Regions from separate parts of the Homo sapiens genome. Here region 1 is linked to region 2. Evidence: promoter capture Hi-C in 16 types of primary human blood cells and fetal thymus (Javierre and others, 2016). All regions are on one chromosome and are shown on one strand. The core of a region is centred on a gene start or on the middle of the fragment in contact, and the rest is flanking DNA. Distances in the headings are between cores, read along the strand shown. Region 1 overlaps MARCHF3 (membrane associated ring-CH-type finger 3). Region 2 holds the start of MARCHF3 (membrane associated ring-CH-type finger 3).

Region 1 (3,354 bases), core at 617-3,116, 130 kb before region 2:
TATACATTTTCATAAGTGGCACATCTAAGAATTAAACTTTTTTTTTTAGTATCCAAACTAAAAGCTTCAAAAGCATATTATTTCTCTTTCGTGTTTTACAAGCACCAACATAACCTTCTTCTCACATATCCATCACAGTGTAAATCTATCCCTCTAACTCTGTAATGATGGATTGCAAAGAAACCGCTTTATCCCAAACAATCTCACAGCGTTCCTATCTCTTCAAGAAAGGAGGCGGGCAGTGGTGAGGCACGCCACAGAAACATACATTCCATGAAGAATGAGGAGGACGGCAAAGCCTGAAGACCTGACAGGGGTGTTTTCTTATCTTCCCCCAAATCTGCTGCACCTGTCAAAAAAAGTGAGGCAAAGAATTGAGGGAGAGCCACAAATAATTGAAGAGAAAAATCAGTGTTTTCCTTTCTGGGTTGCAAAATAAGGTTTACCAATCTGAATTATCTTGATGGTAGTTTTAAAGAAATTTGTCTCACAAGTGTGTACAGCCACATGAGGACTGATTAACCTTCACAACCATTCGTGAAAGGAGGGAAAGGTTTCTGACAATTTTGGATTAAAAGATTCCTCCTAAGGAATTGGTAACATAATGACTCAGTAAACTGAAGACTCAAATGCAGAGGAAGAGTAACTAAATGAGAAGAAAAAAAGAAAGGCTATGTAAAGTCACTTGAAAATGAAGAATGATTTTTCTGGCTTCTGATAGGGTGCTGTAGCCAAAAGCTTTGCTTTCCAACTAGAGTACAAAGAGACACAGGAAAGAAGTGCCACTCTACTCTTCCAGCACTTGATCTGGCACAGCTCAGGGTGTTTTTTAAAACAGACTTTATTTTTTAGAGCAGTTTTTGGTTCACAGCAAAATTGAATGGAAAGCACAGAGGGTTCTCATATATCCCTGTCTCCCCCTGTCCCCTACAGTCCCCTCTACTGTCAACAGCCCACACCACAGTGGTACATGTGTCACTAGTGATGAACCTACCTTGACACATCATCACCAAAGCTCATGCCTTACATTAGAGTTAACTCTTGTGTTGAACGTTCTATGGGTTTTGATATAATGACATGAATCCACCATTATAGTGCAGACTAGTTTCACTGCCCTAAAAATCCTCTGTGCTCCACCTTTTCATCCTTCCCTCCTTGCTAACTCTCTGATTTAATAGACGAATCTGGTGTCAAGAGGAAATAAGGGCTTTACTCATAATTTTTTTTTCCATCTTCCCCCTTCTGAAGCACATGTAGTTTCTTGGAAAGGCTTATCGGCAAAGAAACCCTCAGCTCTATGTGTGCATAGGTTCATGCCAATGAGCAAATGCAAGAAAGTACTTTAGAGCCAGGAAGGAAGCCAGGTGCAATGGTCTGAATGTTTGTGTCCTCCAAAATTCATATTTTGAAATCCTAACCCTCAAGGTGATGGTATTAGGAAGTGGGGCCTTTGGGAGGTGATTAGGTCAGGAGGATGGAGCACCCATGACTGAGATTTGTGCCCTTACAAAAGAGACTCCAGAGAACTAGCTCTTCCCGTCTACCATGTGAGGACATAGACAGAAGTTGGCAGTCTGCAACCAGGAGGAGGACCCTCACTAGAACCCAACTATGTCGGCACCCTGACCTTGGACTTCCCAGCCTCCAGGACTGTGAGAAATACATTTCTGTTGTTTATAAGCCATTCAGTTTACAGTATTTCATTTATAGTAGCCAGAATGGACTGGGCCACTAGGTGTGGTGGAAAGAACGTGGGCTTTGGAGATAGACCTGGATTCTTCTTTAATTTTTTTTTTTTTTTTGAGATGGAGTCTCACTCTGTTGCCCAGGCTGGACTGCAGTGGCATGATCTCAACTCACTGCAACCTCTGCTTCCTGTGTTCAAGTGATTCTCCTGGCTTAGCCTCTCAAATAGCTGGGATTACAGGAGCCTGCCACCACGCCCAGCTAATTTTTGTGTTTTCAGTAGAGACAGGGTTTCACCATGTTGGTCAGGCTGGTCTCGAACTTCTGATCTTAGTCACGTGATCCACCCGCCTCAGGCTTCCAAAGTGCTGGGATAACAGGCATGAGCCACCGTGCCTGGACCACCTGCATTATTCTTTTGCCTTCTCCACTTACTAGCCCTGAGGCTGAAAGTATTTAAGATCAATGAAGAGTGACTTAGGTCTGAGTTGCAGCTTCCTTATCTACAGAATACGATAATATCTGCTATGAGAAGGATACCTGAGACATTGAAATAAGATGATTATATAAAGTGTATACAAGCACAACATAACTTTCTTCTCACATATCCATCACAGTGCAAATCTAACCCCTTAACTCTGTAAAACTAGATTGCAAAGAATATTGCATGTAATATTTTTCCTTTGCCTCAGAAATGGGTAAACAAAATTTAAGAAGAAAAAACTCTGGGGTGTGAACATCTTGATAAACATAGATGGACTCACGTTAATTAATGCCACTGGACTGGAATCAAGATCTGTGCCTATTCTGGAAAGTAAAATTCTTTGCACAAACAGGCATAGCAGGTCTCATTCAGTGAATAAACAACCACCGATCTCCCTGTGCCTAACTGAAGATACTTCTCTCTGCTCACTCGTTTACAACTGATTGTTAGGCAGTGTGAGGGATTAGCTATAATCATGTATTGTTCTCAATATTTCACACATTAGTCATTTAAAACTATGTATTCTTTCTTTGGAGTTAAAAGTCAGTTGTTGACACTTAAAACTGAAGATGCTTGTGGAGGGCTGGCAGGAGCCCTCAGCAGGGAGCGTTATGCATATTCTATAACTCTGCTTCTGAAATCTGCACCAGGGCTTCTGCAATTTATGTCTCCCTTCAGCTCAACCAGGTGCCTTGTACCCAACACAGGGCAATTCCTGAGAGTTAATTGTGCCTTGTTATTTCAGCAGGACTTAGGATGAAGGTGATTACCAGCTGTAGTTATTCAGTGACATTTCAATTCTCCTCTCTCAGACTCCCCCTTACAAAGCTTTTCTGCCAGCAGCCCAAGACACCTTGACTTCCACCACCCCAACACCCATGGAATAACTTCTAATTGTCTGCCTTTCAAAGAAGTGAACTCCATAGCTGTCAACATTTGCTGTACTAATTGTTTGTACATTTGGAGTTAGCTGAAAGGGTCCGGAATCTTTCAAGATGATCTGTCTCTTCTGTTAACTTCCTCTTATTCTTGGTCCACATGTGCTTAAGGAAAACCTGGCTGGATTTCCTCCCTATTTGAGAACACCTAGGGATGAATCAGTGAAGACCACGGTTTTCTCCCTGGCCCCAACAGGCTATTCCTTTGAAGGCGTTTGTTAATTCTGGGTAGTGAATACACACCTG
Region 2 (3,349 bases), core at 29-2,528:
CATACAGAACTATATATCTCAACATTTTCATGTATTTTCAAAGGTCTAAACATCCCCAAATTCTGGACCTGTTTCTGTCTAGTATTTTCAAAAGCTCTTATTCATGTCAAATAAGAATTGTAAGAAAATATCGTATTGAATTCTGTTTATTCCGCACATAATATAAACTACATGCATGTAGTTGGTCTCAGAAAAACAAGCTGCTTTTACCCCCTTACCATTAAGGGGGGAAAACAATCTAACCCAGACCGAGTCACAAACGGAGTGTCAGGTTTAACCTTGAGTTCTCTGCTGTCAATTCCTGACTCAACTTCATCACTTAAACACGCAGGTGCTCAAACAAACACCAACCGACCAGGCTGGCAATCCCTTTCGCAGCCTCTAGGATTCTCCAAGGCACTGGGCACCAGAACCGACAGCAGCTCCCGCCTGGTCCTAACGAAGTCCTTCGGACACCCCTTGCGGGTGGATGTGGAGGTCCGAGCACCTCAGGAGGGTCATGGATTCAAGTGCTAATAGAAAGCAATTACTTTAGAAAGTTCAAAGCCCAGCAGTGCTCTCAATTCCTCTCAGTAGCTGCAGAGCACTGAAGCCCCCGCTACAGAACCCGGCTGGTACTCCAGTTCTCTGGCGCTGAGACCCACCTTGAGCCCGATGAGCGCTCGCTCAGCCTTGAGATCCAGACGCGGACGCCGGGTCTTACCGTACCGCACAGCGCGGGTAATTTTTCAGGAACCGCGGTCCGCACGCCGCGGGCGCGGAGGCCGCCCCAGCGCTCCATGTCGTTGCCGCAGAGGGGCAGGGGACGCGTCCCGGCCCCACCTACCCATGTCAATTACGCCAAGTTGGTGCGGACTGGAACCGCGTCCCGGGCGGAGTTGGGATGCTTTGACAAGAAGAAGTTCGGGAGTGGGGATATTGGCACGGAGTAAATCCCGCCCAGCCCTGACCTCCCCACAGCGGTCACGCTCGGACGAACGGACCGCCGAGCGCCAGGACGCGTCCCGTCCCCTCTCGCCGCCGCCGAACCGCGCCGAGAGGAGCCGCTAGCCCGGCGCGCGGCCACTCACCGTCCTCGCCGAGTCCCGATAGCAAACCGACGTCCCTGCTGCGGTTCTAAGTGCCAAGTTGCCCCCAGTCGGTGGCTGCTCACGGCCCAGTGGACCAGGGCACATTGGTTCCGGCGGGCACCTCAGGGGGAGTGCGGCAAGCCTGGCGGCCGCCGCGGCCACACAGTCGCCCACAGCGCGCTGACAATTCACGGACCTGCTCAACGAGTGAGGCGGAAAGCAGGGCTAAGCCGACCAGGCTCTGGAGGGGAGGCGGGGCTGCCGCTAGGGGCGGAGCCAGCCCCGGGGCGTCATCAGCCCATGACTGGCGGAGCCGACAGCCAGTCGTGGTGGCGCTGGGACCGCCCCGTAACCGCCGTCCAGTCGCCTGCGGCCGAGGGCAGGCTGGCGGGACGCGCCGGCGGCGGGGAAGTTGGTTATTGCGAAGTGCCGTGGCTGCCGGCGGGCGCTGCGGGACTCTCTGCAATGGGACCCGAGCAGCTCTAGAGGGAGGCGGCGGCCCCAGAAGGCCGTTGGCTGAGAGAGACCAGGAGCCCTCGGAGCCGCCGCGCGCATAGCGCTGTGGAGCAAGAAGCCAACCGCAGCGCGGGTCGACACGCCAGTATCTGGCACCGGCAGGAGGCGCGGAACTTAGCTGCCCCATCGGAACCCCGCCCGGAGGAAGCTGAGGGCCGAGAAAGGATGAATTCCGGACCGGGTCGCCCAGCCACAAGTGGAAACCTGGGCTCTCTGGAAAACGTTCTGATCTCGATCTGGCTATCTCTGAAACAAAACTCCAGCCCCGCAAACCTCCCAAAGTTCAGTACACGTCCCCGTCCTCACCCCTGCCCTCCGGGCCACCTGCAGCGGGGGACTTACCGGCGCCTCGGGTCTCCTCCTCCCGACCCAGCGCGTCGCGGACACAGCTGGCGGCCAACAGGAGGCTTGGGCGCTCGACGGCGCCGGAACCTGTGAGACCGTCGCTCTGGGCGGGCTGCCGTGCGGGGTGGCATCCTCTGCGGTGACTTCTGCTGTCTTTTGGGTCCGCCAGGATTCCAAAATCCCAGGCGGGTCGCTAGAATTATCCATCTTCGTGGACAGGAAGCCCCAGAACGAACCACATCTGTCCCACTCTGCTTCCGCCCTCCTTCCCCTTCGCAAGCTCCTGGCTGGGATGGAGACATCGGACGAGCTCGGAGATCCCGACCTCTCAGGGGTCACTCGCAGCCGAACAGCCTGGAATATGGCCTTGTGGGCCCTTCCCGCCCAACCCCCTAGGACCCCACTGCTCATCTTGTCAACCAGTTTCTGAGCCCCTACCCTGGCTGCAGCACGTGCTCGCACAGGCGCGCTGAGCTACTAACATAGAATCAAAAGCAGGGAGTTGGGTGTTCTTGCTTTCCCGCTGAAACCTAGAATGTAAACAAGCCCTAGACCGTCAGCTGTGGGTGGGTAGGGGCCTCTCCCTGCCTAGAACTGCTCTTGCCATGGGTAGGCACCTAACCCGTATTAGTAAGAATGAAGGAATGCATGCTCATAACAAGAAAGGGGTCAACCTGCTGCCCTGATACTCACCTTCACCACTTACGTCTTGCTTCCAGCGCAAGCCCACTTCAGACCATTGCCTCATTCAGGTCCCAGAAGTCCTAAGGGTTTTAGTCTCTCAGTATGGGCAATTATTCACATGTAAGGGAGCTGCAAGGTGTTATTTCAATGCCATCTGGCCTCTATAAGGTCTTGCATCATAGCTGACCTCTCATGAGAAGGTTCTGATGAGGTCACCAGGGAGAAGGAATGTAAAGGGCTGGTGGCTGAAAAGGAGTGAAATGGCCCCTCTTAGGTGAGCTCTGGCCTGGTTTGAGTTTCAATTCTGTCTCCTCAGCTCCATTTCTCAATGGGAAAAGGTCCATAGGAAGGTTGTCAGAAGGGCAGGAGACTAGGGCAGGGATAGCCCTTTGCAGACCCTGAAAAATTGCTCAGTAATGCAAACATTGTCCATATTTAAGTTCTTTCTTTTCTTTTCTTTTTTTTTTGAGGCAGAGTCTCACTCTGTCGCCCAGGCTGGAGTGCTATGGCTTGGCTCACTGCAAGCTCCGCCTCCTGGGTTCACGCCATTCTCCTGCCTCAGCCTCCCAAGTAGCTGGGACTACAGGCGCCCGCCACTACGCCCGGCTAATTTTTCGTATTTTCAGTAGAGACGGGGTTTCACCGTGTTAATCAGGATGGTCTCGATCTCCTGACCTTGTGATCCGCCCGCCTCGGCCTCCCAAAGTGCTGGGATTAGAGGCGTGAGCCACTGC

Evidence for each region. The method cuts DNA at HindIII sites, captures the fragments that hold promoters and counts their contacts. A CHiCAGO score of 5 or more calls a contact.
Region 1: a contact is called between a fragment that was not itself captured here and the fragment with the promoter of MARCHF3 in region 2, in 6 of 17 cell types (naive B cells, erythroblasts, total B cells and 3 more). The highest score is 13.7, in naive B cells.

What each region holds. Positions count from the first base shown.
Region 1 is chr5:126,898,918-126,902,271 of GRCh38, forward strand. All of the region lies in intron 3 of MARCHF3 (membrane associated ring-CH-type finger 3), which reads right to left. Among named protein-coding and RNA genes, the nearest start is that of LMNB1, 120 kb to the left of the region's middle. The HindIII fragment of the contact is 2,260 bases long and covers 737-2,996 here.
Region 2 is chr5:127,029,280-127,032,628 of GRCh38, forward strand. MARCHF3 (membrane associated ring-CH-type finger 3) reads right to left here and starts at 1,279. Exons shown (of 5, transcript NM_178450.5): 1 at 1,071-1,279. LOC105379163 (a long non-coding RNA gene) reads left to right here and starts at 2,064. Exons shown (of 2, transcript XR_007058920.1): 1 at 2,064-3,349. RefSeq lists a silencer at 1,241-1,620 and an enhancer at 1,617-2,161. The HindIII fragment of the contact is 7,560 bases long and covers 1-3,349 here.